Regions from separate parts of the Homo sapiens genome. Here region 1 is linked to region 2. Evidence: promoter capture Hi-C in 16 types of primary human blood cells and fetal thymus (Javierre and others, 2016). All regions are on one chromosome and are shown on one strand. Each heading gives the region's core, a stretch centred on a gene start or on the middle of the fragment in contact. The rest is flanking DNA. Distances are from core to core; before and after follow the strand shown.

Region 1 (6,019 bases), core at 1,029-3,528, 260 kb before region 2:
CCACAGCCAGGCAGGCTGGGCCCTGAGGGGAGTGGTGGGGGAGGGGCTGGTCCCCACAGCCCCTCTGATAAATATGTATTTGGGGCTGCTGTGCTCAAAGGTCATGGGGGGAAAAGGAGGAGGAGGGGTGGTCTGCACTGTGCTGTGCTGCTGGGTCCCAGCCAGGCTCAGCATGGGTTGTGTGACCCCCCTCCAGAGGTCTGATGAGATTCAGGGAGATGCCCCCCTCATCCTGGTCTGGCCCACTCCACCCACATCCATGCTCCGAGGGAGATGCTGCTGTGGACACACAGATATTCAAACTCTGAAACAGGCAATCACACAAGCCCACACCCGCCGACACCTAGACAGAGGCTCAAACAGATGCACAAAGACGGCCTCATGGGCCACCAGATACATGGAAGGCTCAGAGTGCAGAGCCAGACCCATCGCTTCTTCCCCACCCCAACCTTCAACCCAACGCCAAAAAAAAAAAAAAAATGCTCAAGAGTGCATAGTGTCTCACAGTAAGAAAGCTTTCTACACATTCAATAGACGCAAACACACACACGGACCCAAAAATGCAGAGTCCAACAAGAAAGGTCCCTGAACACTTTGTGGGTGGGCATGTACACATAGACGCACAAGCAAACACATACACAAAGGCACATACATAGATGCACACCAGGAGTCCCAAAGATACAAAGTTCTACGAAGGTAGGCACATGCTGACAACTGCAGATAAATGTATGAACACACATGCACACAAACATGCACACATACAAAGACCCCAAGACACACACGGCAGGCAGGATGCATGGTGGATCCAGGCTGGGAAACCCACCCTGCTGCAACAGAGCCGGATCTGGCCCTTTCCCCGCTGAGGCGAGAATGGCTGCCTGGTCTCTGGTCATGGGCCCCCAGCCAGCTTCAGCCAAATGCGCCATCATTTGTCCAGCTCTGAGTCACATCAGTTGTCGAGCCTCCCCTCCTCGCTGACCAGCCATCTCGGCCATCAGCGGCCTCGGCCATTAGTCGGCTCCTGCCTCTGGCCTGCATTTGTTGAATCTCCCTTACCTGGCAGAACCGTCCGGACCAATGGAACCCTTTTGGAGTCGGCCTGACCTTTTCCTCAAGGGATTCCGATGTACCCTGTTGTATGACCCTCGGCCCATGCCTCAGGGCGACCCTCCCCTCAGCACACTGCTCAGGCTGTCATTCTTCAATGACCGCTGGCCACAGTAGTTCTGGTGGATTGTGAGGCTGTGTGTTTGAGTATGTGTGGAAGTCCGCTTGTAGGTATATGTGTATGGGTGGTGGGATGGCTATAGCTGTGCTTTAAGTCAAAATGAGTGTGTGTGTGTATGCGTGTGTGTCTGTGTCTGTGTGTGAATAAGGGGATAGGAAGTCAGCAGCTGTGCTTAAAGTCAGAGTGCCTGAGTATATGGTTGTATATATGGGGAGATGGAATGTCAGGGGCTGCGCTTCGTGTGTGTGTGTGTGTGTGTGTGTGTGTGTGTGTGTGTGCACTTTAATGCAGGAGTGACTTGGTGTATTGGCCTGGGCTTGGCGTGGGGGGCCATGAGGGGCCGTGTCTGTTTTGGGCATGGGGGGCAGTGCGGTACAGGCATCTGTTTCTCAAGCAGTTGTGAGCAAGTGGAATGTGCCTCTCTCAGACTCCGTTGCTTGTGTTTGTGAAAGTGACAGATGCTGCCTCCCTGGCCTCACTGCGGCGGATTAAGTCTGTGAATGCCACATGAGTCTGCACCCCGGGTGGGGGAGGGTCCCCAGTCTGCTCTTATACTTGCGTGTGTGGGCCACAGCCCTATACTTTATAGGATCCTGAGAGTGTGGACTAAAGTAACCCCCAACCTTGTTGGTTTCTGTGAGGGAGACCCTGAATGGATGCCAGAATAAAGGTCCCTGTGTGTGTGTGCACAAGCACACTCATGCTCATAGACAAGTCCGTATTGTCCAAAGTACGTTGTCACGAGATGCATGTGTATATGTGTATGTGTGTGTGATTGCAGGCATAATAGCTCCCCGCTGCCAGCCAGATCAAGTTCCAACTTCTCAGAGCAGCAGCTGAGCCTCCACAGACAGGGCCTTGCAACATTGTGCCAACCTCTACTCTTAGACTACACCTCCAACCTGGGCTGCTTTCTCCTCACTTTCCTCTGCCATCTTTATGCCCTGCCACCAGTCTGCTTTTCTCAGTATCTGAGCATCCTTAAAGACTCACCTCCCTGTCTAAACCCACACCATCTTCATTCCCCAGATTCCTAATGACCTGGAAACTCCCTTTGTGCTCACAGTCCAGGCGCCCAGAATCCTGTCTAAGGCTGGGATTGGTTCTGCTTCAGAGTCTAGGCCTTTGTTGGCCCATGGTCAGTGCCTAGCGATCATTTTCAGGTTAAGGAGTGATCATACCACCATTGCCCGATTACCTCAGGGAACTCACTGGACTTTATTTGTTCAGTGATTCACACCACTCAATAAATACCTATTGAATGCAGGGACCTTGCATGTGGAGCCACCACCTTCAGCCTCCTTCCGAATGCGTCAGAGCTGGGAAAGCTGCCTGTCCCGAGGATCTAATGAAGTTGGGGTGGTGATCGAGTGAGGGAAAATGCACCTGCCTCCCAAGGCCACCATGTGGATCTGAAAAGGTGACACAGGGCTCACCAAAAGGGGTAGGGGGGACCATAAGCTCATGCAAACCCCTGTGTTTGAACAGGCCCAGCCCCAAACCATCACTGATGGAACGAGCTCAACCATGCTCATTTGCTGGCTCTCCCTTCAGGATATAAAGCGAGACCCACATCCTTAGAGCCCTCACTGAACCACATAAGGCATCCATCCACCCGACAGGTCCTGGGAGACAGGTCTGTGGATGGACATCTCAGGGGGCAGGGAGGAAGTGGGGGAAGAGACAGAGCCAGTGAAAGGAAATGGCGCTGGGACAGCTAATGGGATAGGACAGACCTATAAGGACAGACAAGGCTCGGTATGAGGAGGACCTTGGTTCTAGCGCCAGCATGGTTGCTGACAGGCTGAGCAAATGATGTGGGCCTCAGAATTCTCATCTGTGAGAGGGACACCACTGGGGCTGCTGTGAGAGCGAGGTGGGTGTAAGGGACATCATGGTCATTATTATTATTAGATCAAGAGGTGTTGAGCCCAAGGGAAAAATGATGAGTGAAATATATTTAGAAGGAGGAATAGACATCCATCTGAGGAGGCCTTACACCCACTCTGTCTTCTAACAACTCTTCACACTTGGGTTTCTCAACCATCTCCATCCTGAAATATCTTGGAAATTAACCAGCACATGCCAGAGATGGAAACTTCTCCCTTGCCATCATCGATGTCCAAGTAGCCCCTGGTGTGGCCATCTGTCCCTGCTCCCCTCGTTGCAAGTCATGCCTCTACACATTATGATTATGCACCAGGGCTATGAAAAGCTCTACCCAGTGGGGTGCTAAGGTTGGGGCCCTTGCTTTGCTGTCACATTGGTGGAGGAAGAAGTTCTGGCTTATAGGCCCTGCATACAAGAAGGGAGTGTATATGAACCAGAATGGAGGTGGCCTGGAGTGGCCACTGACGGACTTGCTAGAAAAAAAAAAAAAAAACACCTGGCCAGCATGCTGTCTAGGACGTATAGGCTAACAACCTCTACACACACAGCATGGGTATAGGTGTGTGCATACACACACACTGTGGCTGAGTTCTTTCCCTACTACAGCCCTGACACAGACACCTTCCATTTTCCCTGCAAAGACTAGCAGAGGGAAGTGAGCGCAACCAAGACCCCCAAAGATGACACTGCAACCTGCCACAGAGTTCACCAGCACATGCCAGCACAGCCTCAGGGAAATGGGGGTCTGGACCTCTCCAACGGCAAGGATGGGCCTCTGTCCAGCATTACCCATAAATCAGGAAGTAGATGTGGAATCGCATTATCAGCAACTGGAGATGCTGCCTATGGCCCTGATCGGCTTTACTCCTGGCCTGCCTGTCACCCCCTGACATGGGACGCTTTGTTACTACAGAAGGTCCAGGGAAGCTTTTCATGGGCTGATAGACTGTGGGGAGAGGGGATCTTTTCTTGTTTTGTTTTCTTGAACCCAGCTTCAAGGCTGCTGTGCAAGCATGCCGTCAAACTCAGCCATACGCCCGCGACCTCTGTGCACTCACACATCTCTCATCACTCTACCCAGACCCTGCTTCACAAACCCACCCTCCCTCTTACCCAGGACACGCAGAGACCCCGAGCAATAACAATAATAATATCTCCATGCAGAAATGGTACTTTCACATATGTGACTTTTTTTGATGTGCACCCTTGTGTGCACACACTATGTTCAGACCTAGTACCCATACACAGAGCCTTCACTCCAAACACGCTGCACATACAAAGTGTCACGTGTCCACTGCTGAAGCCAGACTCGGCACATGGGCCTGCACACGCGTGGACGGCTTCCACGCACAGAGCCAAAGAGGGCCTCCTGAATGCACACATAGCGAGTGATACATAAACATCAGGACGAGGGAGAGATCAGTACAAATATGCACTGACTCCCTTCTGCACATATGTCACCCATGATGGGGACCCCCAGTACCCAACCCCCCACTGAAAACACATGTCACGATTCTACACCTTTGGCTCCTCACTCTGCCAAGGCTTCGAGGCCCAGCACACACAGTTAGTCCTTCCTGAACACATCTCACCACACATGCAGGCCTTATACACATGCATGCTGCCGTCATGGTCTGACTCTGTACCCACCAGCCCCCCACTGCACACTGACTCTGTACCCACCAGCCCCCCACTGCACACTGACTCTGTACCTTCCCCTTATATCCTGGGGGGTGGAAGGACAAATCCACCTGACAAGATGGCAAGAGACTAAAAGCTACTGAGCGAAGCGGCTGATTGGGTCTTTCTCTAAATCCAGGACCTACTCCCCAACTCCACAGGCCCCAGGAAGGAGGCAGAAAGTGGGGAGTGGTCATCAGGCCAAAGGCTTTCTCTCAGGATCTTTTACCTGGACTCAAAAGCTCTAAGGACTCTCTCAGATGGACTTCCGCCCCAATTTCCTCCCGTTTTCACTTCCCGCTAGGCATCCATGTCATTTTCTTCTCTGTCCACACCCTTCTCAGTGGGGCTGAGTCGACAGCCATGAGCCCTCACTTAAGATCTTCCCCTCCCCCTCCCAGAGCCCCAGTGAGCATCCAGCAGGACTTCTCCAGGAGGCCACAAGGAAGTAGGGGGTGGCACTAGAACCCAGGGGACAGACCCAAACCCCCACTCAGGGTAAAAAAGAGGGTAGAAATACATGGGGTTTCAGAACAGGGGTTAGGCTCTGGTAGGAAGTTGGGGATTCCTGCCTTTGCATGGAGCCCCTTTCCCTGGCACCCTGTTGAAGGCCAGAGCAGCAAGAGTGATGAATAAATGAAACTGAGGGAGGGGGTAGAAAGAGCTGGCAACAGGGGAAATGAGTGGCAGGAAGGGAAGAATAAAAGAAAGGGGGAAAGGGGGAAGGGAAAAACGGAGAAAAAAGAAGGGAAGGAGGTGGAGATAAGGGAGGTAGAAAAAGAAAAACTAAGGGGTGGGGAGGAGGAGAAAGAGCTTTTATTGAGAAAAGGAAGAGATAGAAACTGAAAAACAGTGAGAAAGAAAAAACAGTAAAGGAGATGGAAATAAAGGAGCTGAGAAAGGACATGAAAAGGGAAAGAAAAGAGACCAAAGAGGCAGCAGGCAGTCGAAGGGGTTCCCCAAGTTACAGACTTTGTCCAGAGAGCTGAGGGGTGCACCGCGGCTCCCCAACCTCACTCTGGGGCCCTGGAGCTCCGTTTTCCACCTCTCCTCCTGCCTGAGATGCCACCGCCTCTGAGTGCCCCATCCCGGCTGCTTTTTCCTATTTCTCACCGTTTCTGCTCTCCAAGGCACCCCGTTCCTTTCTCTCACCCCTCATTCCCACCACCCAGCCCTTTCTCGTTCCCTGTGCCCTCTTACCTCTCCCCCCCCATTGCACCC
Region 2 (5,844 bases), core at 2,367-4,866:
CAACAAAAAGGCAACCCCGGGGGTGGCGAAAAGCGTCCTTCGGGCAGGACTAGTGCGGAGCCCCGCGGGGAGCACCCCAGCAGGGAAGTCCCGATCTTCCCACGTGCTGGGAAGCCTCCCATGTGCTGGCTCAGTCTCGCCATCCCACTCACCTTCCCAGGGAGGGATGCCCTAGCACGCGGCCCGGCCCGCCTTTTGAAGGGGGAAAGTGGGGCGCCTCTGAGCCTCTGCCTGGGGTGGGGGCGGGCCAGGTCCTCTGCCAACTCAAAGACGAGGCGGGGCGCCAGCGCTGGAGGCGTGGCTGTGCCTGAGAGCCGTTGGAGGAGGGAGCCCCGCTTTCCCTCTCCTGTCTCCTAGTTCTCCTATTGCGCTTTTCCTGGGGGATCTTTCTCCCTCTGTCTCCGCCCCCTAATCCATGCTCCCGATAATGAGGGTGGGGGATGGTGGTAGGAGAACGCTCGGCGCCTGCGCACTAGCTTCAGGCCGCGGGCCGGCCCAAGAGCGGAGGTAGAGGGAACGACGCATGCTTGAGAAATGGCGGGAAACAGAGGAGGCTCGAGGCTTGCTCACACGCACACAGCCAACTGCTTCTGGACCGCCTTGCTCACACGCACACAGCCAACTGCTTCTGGACCGCCTGAAAGGCAACCTCGCCCGCCGCGGTGGTGTGGGGCGGGCATCCCTTGAGACTGTGCTCTGGAGGCCTGGAGAAACAGCTTTCTATCCTCAGCACTGGGGAGAGCAGGCCTCAATCCCTGCCTTTGCCTGCCGCCCCTCTTCCTTCCCTCTCAAAGCATACCCAGCAGCCCCGGCGCTGAGAAACGCGTTACTCTCTTATCAGCTGTGGGAGAGACAAGACAGACTGGCCTCTGGGCGGAGGGGCCGCCATTGCCTGCCCTCTGGACCAGGGCCTCACAGATACCCTCAGCTTCAGGATTAGGGCTGCGTTGGTTTTTCCCCCCACATCAGGGGACTTCAACAAGTAACCTCCAGTTCCATAGATAAAACTTGTATTCCCCCCTTCTCCATGGCAGGGGTTTTGAGCCTAGAGAAGGAAGATCGGAGCTTCCTGGGGCTCCTGTGAAGCAGGCAGGGGGCAGCACTGGGCCCCGGGAAGAGGCGGAGAAGGCGAGGGAGTGCCTGCGGTGAGCCCAGAGCCTTGGGCCCGTTATCCTCTGATGCTGCTCCCCCAACTTTCCTGCCGTCAGTCCCTGACCTTGCCTGAGACCTTGGCGGCTCCCGCACCTCTCTCCCGGCTCCTCCTTGCTGAGAACACAACCCGCAAGGCCCTTCCGCCTGGCTGGACTGAGTCCCCTATGGAGGCAGCCTGGCAGGGAGCAGGTATCTTCCTGGCAGAAGAGGACAGACCTGGTAAACTGAGAGACTGTTGATGCCCCAATGTTCTGCCTAGCCTGCCTGGAAACTCCAGAAGGGTAAGGTACCGTCTTTGTATTGTATTGCTGGGACTTACGCCCGTGTCTACCCCAGAGCTGGTGCTCAGTCAGTTTCTGTGGATGGATGAATGAACACTGGCAAGAGGGCCGCTTTCCTGGTCTCCTGGTCCCTAGCTCAGAGTGCCTTCCCACTCTGGGATTTGATTTTCCCCAAATCCTCTATAGGGAGGCAGCCTGGTCCAGGGGAGAAAGACCCCGGCTTCAAATCCTGACTTTGCCACTTCCTAACTGCATGGCCCTGTGCAAGAACCCTTACTTCTTTATTTTCTACCTGATGTCCTCATTTCTAAAATGAGGATGTTGGCCAGGTGCTCGGTGGCTCATGCCTGTAATCTCAGCACTTTGGGAAGCTGAGGTGGGAGGCTTGCTTGGGGCCAGGAGTTCGAGACCAGCCTGGGCAACATAGCGAGGCCACGTCTCTACGGAAAATGTAAAAATTAGCGGGGCATGGTGGTGCACTTGTAGTCCCACCTACTCCGGAGGCTGAGGTATGAGGATCGCTTGAGCCCAGGAGTTTGAGGCTGCAGTGAGCCATGATCATACCAGTGCACCCCAGCCTGGGCGACAGAGTGAGACTTTGTTTTTTTCTTTTTTTGAGATGGAGTCTTACTCTGTCACCCAGGCTGGAGTGCAGTGGCACGATCTCAGCTCATTGCAACCTTTGCCTCCCGGGTTCAAGTGTTTCTCTGCCTCAGCCTCCCGAGTAGCTGGGATTACAGGCACCTGCCACCACGCCTGGCTAATTTTTGTATTTTTAGTAGAGACGGTGTTTCACCATCTTGGCTAGGCTGGTCTTGAACTCCTGGCCTCAAGCAATCCATCTGCCTCGGCCTCCCAAAGTGCTGGGATTACAGGTGTGAGCCACTGCGCCCAGCCTTTTTTTTTTTTTTTTTTTTTTTTAATAATGGGGATGTTGATCTTTATCTCAGGATTGTTGAAGGATGACCAGAGCTAACCTGATACACCGTAAGTTTTTAGTATTTTTTAAGTAAATGAATGACTGTCCCTGAGAGGCTTCAATTCCTCCAGATTCACACTCACCTGTATCCTGGTAGTGTCTGTGATTCCGAGCACTGGTTTTCTCATGTGGCGACGTCCCACTGTATCCTGACATCACTTTATAACCAGATTTTCCTTTGAAGCCTAGCTTCACTCCCTGGGCCACCATTCCACCCATCGTGGCTGGAGAATCTGTGTCTGAAGATGATCCCACATCTGATTCTGACTCAGAATCTGTGACCCACTCAGAAAGTGCCTTCCACTCTAGGGCTGATCGCTGTATGGATAGTTCCTGAAGTTTTGTTAGAAATCCCAGCTCTGTCAAAGATCCCTGCTTGGATTTGGCTCCCTGGACTGGCGTTGTTTGCTTGTCTGACTGTTCAGGTGTCTCTTGGGACGTAGATTCAGTCGGGGCAGATGGCTCCCTTTTGGCTCCAGGTTTAGCCTGGGCCGCAGGTGTTGATTCAGCTTCTTGTTGAGCTGGAGGTGGCTCTCCTGGCCCAGGCCCTGGCTGGGCTACATGTCTTTGTCTCAATGCTGGCTCCTGTTGAGTTATAGATTCTTTTCCTAGCCCAGGTCCCTGCTGGGAGGCAGCTTCCTGTTGAGTGAGCAGCACCCTTTGGATGTAAGGTGATTGCTGTGGTGCGGGCTTCTGTGGGGCAAGAAATTCCTCTTGTGAAGCAGATTTTTGTTGGGCTCTAGGTTCCTTCTGGGATTCAGCATCATGTTGTGCAGGGGTCTCCTGCTGGGTGAGGGGTCTTTGGTTTGAAGCAGGCTTCTGTTGGGTATTGGATCCCTGCAGAGTCTTCGATTCTGGCTGGGCTATGGGTGTCTTTTCTGGCCCAGGCTCTAGCGGGGTTATAGGCCTCTGGTGTGGTTCAGGTTGCCAGTCTGACCTAGACACTGACTTAGAACCTGGCTCCATTGTTATTTCCCTCACGGGAGATATTGATCTTCCAGGTTCTATCCTTCTGGGCTCCCACCCAGCCCTCTCTCTTCACAGATCTCTCATTGATTCCTCATGATGGCACTTCCTCTTGGGTTTCACTCCATCCTAGCATCACTGGTCTTCCTTTTTAAGGCAGCTGGCAGTTGGCCGATCACAGCTGGCCCCCACTAAGTAATGAACTCTGTGCCTCTTTCTTTGGTGGGAGGATTAGGAATAGGAGGAGGCTATGTGCCTAGCACTCTCTTACAAGAAGGGAGGGGCTTGCTCTCTTGTGTCATAAATAGGGCCCCACCCCACCCACCACTCCGTTAAAATGTTTCTTCTCATAAGGCAAGCATCCCAATTTAGGCCTCCGTGTCATCTGGGATGACAGAAGCCAGATGCTGGATGAGTGTTCCTTTTTTCTCTTTCCTTCTAATGTCTGAGGAAAGCGTCATTCAGGGGGCAGTCTCTGTAGTTGTTGTAATAATTATTTCCCTCTTTGTTCATTCCTACAAATGGTTGCCAGATTATTTATTTATTTACTTATTGAGACAAGTCTTTCTCTGTTGCCCAGGCTGGAGTGCAGTGGTACCATTTTGGCTCACTGAAGCCTCCACCTCCTGGGTTCAAGCGACTCTCCTGCCTCAGCCTCCCAAGTAGCTGGGACTACAGGCGTGCACTGCCACGCCCGGCTAATTTTTATATTTTTAGTAGAGATGGGGTTTTGCCATGTTGGCCAGGCTGGTCTCAAACTCCTGACCTTAAGTGATCCACCCCCACCCCCCGCCCCCGGGCCTCCCAAAGTGCTGGGTTTACAGGTGTGAGCCACCACGCCCAGCCAGGTTGCTAGTTTAATTTCCTTATATTGTCATTCTGATCATTTAACTCTCATGTTAAAAACTAATGTCATGCCTTCCCACTTTTATAGCTTGAGGCCCTTCTGAATGGCATTTGAGATACTCCATGCCATCTCTCTAGCCCTGAACTATGATCCTGTACTAGATTGGAAACTCACAGAAGACAGTGACCACTGATGACAATGACTGATAATGATGGTGGTAATGGTGATGATAGTAGTCATAAATACCAAAGGCTGCCTAAGTGCTAAGAAACTGTGCCAAGTTTTTTTTTTAAACCTATATTATCTTTAATAAGACCGTGTCTGGTTCATTGGTATGCTTTTTTTTTTTTGTCCCACCTCGCTCTTACCTCAGAAAGATTTGTCGAATGAGTGAAAGATGAACAAGTAGGCCAATGGAGACAGAGTGAGGGTCTTGGTGGGGATAAGTATGTGTAGAATCTGGATTCAGTCTGCAGTGAATAGGGTAAAATGGGTCATCTGGTTGTGAATTGGCAGACCCCATTTGAAGGAAACAATTTTGATCTGTGACATTTAAAAATATTTATTGACTTCTGTTTGCTACTTTCCTGATTGCATTTAAGGTTAAATGACACTAGCTAGGAAGCTACAGTTTCCTGGAATCTTTCAGGTAATTAAGCCTAAGCCTGGGTAAGGGGAGGGCACAGGCTAAGACTGACGAGAGAAGAAGACACTAGAGAGAGCAACAAACAAAATGATCTTGAAAAACATGCTTTTTGAGAGCACTGGAATGATTTAGGGGTGGGTACAGTGGGAGAGTGAGGTGGGAGAAGAAGAGTGTCTGGTAGGTGTGCTCACTGTCTTCTTGGCTGAGAATGTTTAATTGGAAGAGTGGGCGCTCAGAGCTCCTACAAAGGCAGAGCAAAGCTTCTTAGCTGACATTGTTTGAGAAATTGCTGGCAGGCTCTGGAATGCTTGTTTGGCTTTCTGTGGTGCCTTTGGTGTCCTAGGGTGCAAATAAAGGGGAGAGGCTAGTGTTAAAACCATTTTTAACATTTCTTTTTTTTTTGGAGACGGAGTCTTGCTCTATTGCCCAGGCTGGAGTGCAGTGGCAGGATCTCAACTCACTGCAACCTCTGCCTCCCGGGTTCAAGTGATTCTCCTGCCTCAGCCTCCCAAGTAGCTGGGATTACAGGTGCCTGCCACCATGGCTGGCTAATTTTTGTATTTTAGTAGAGACAGGGTTTCACCATTTTGGCCAGGCTGGTCTGGAACTCCTGACGTCATGTGATCCACCCACCTCGGCCTCCCAAAGTGCTAGGATTACAGGCATGAGCCACCATGCCTGGCCTTCACATTTAATTTTTTTTTGAGATGGAGTCTCGTTCAGTTGCCCAGGCTGGAGTGCAGTGGTGCAATCTTGGCTCACTGCAACCACTGTCTCCCAGATTCAAGCGATTCTCCTGTCTCAGCCTCTCGAGTAGCTGGGATTACAGGCACCCACCATCATGCCTGGCTAATTTTTGTATTTTAGTAGAGATGGGGTTTCACCATGTTGGCCAGGCTGGTCTTGAACTCCTGACCTCAGGTGATCCACCCGCTTTTGCCTCCCAAAATGCTAGGATTACAGGTGTGAGCCA

The links. The method cuts DNA at HindIII sites, captures the fragments that hold promoters and counts their contacts. A CHiCAGO score of 5 or more calls a contact.
Region 1: a contact is called between a fragment that was not itself captured here and the fragment with the promoter of LIPE in region 2, in 1 of 17 cell types (neutrophils). The highest score is 6.5, in neutrophils.

The regions. Positions count from the first base shown.
Region 1 is chr19:42,169,965-42,175,983 of GRCh38, forward strand. It overlaps a transcript of POU2F2 not described here. Among named protein-coding and RNA genes, the nearest start is that of POU2F2-AS2, 20 kb to the left of the region's middle. The HindIII fragment of the contact is 3,530 bases long and covers 514-4,043 here.
Region 2 is chr19:42,423,772-42,429,615 of GRCh38, forward strand. LIPE (lipase E, hormone sensitive type) reads right to left here and starts at 3,617. Exons shown (of 10, transcript NM_005357.4): 1 at 2,496-3,617. The coding sequence starts at 3,378. It overlaps CXCL17 (C-X-C motif chemokine ligand 17), which reads right to left. Exons shown (of 4, transcript NM_198477.3): 4 at 4,507-5,210. The coding sequence ends at 5,113. All of the region lies in intron 1 of LIPE-AS1 (LIPE antisense RNA 1), which reads left to right. The HindIII fragment of the contact is 12,356 bases long and covers 1-5,129 here.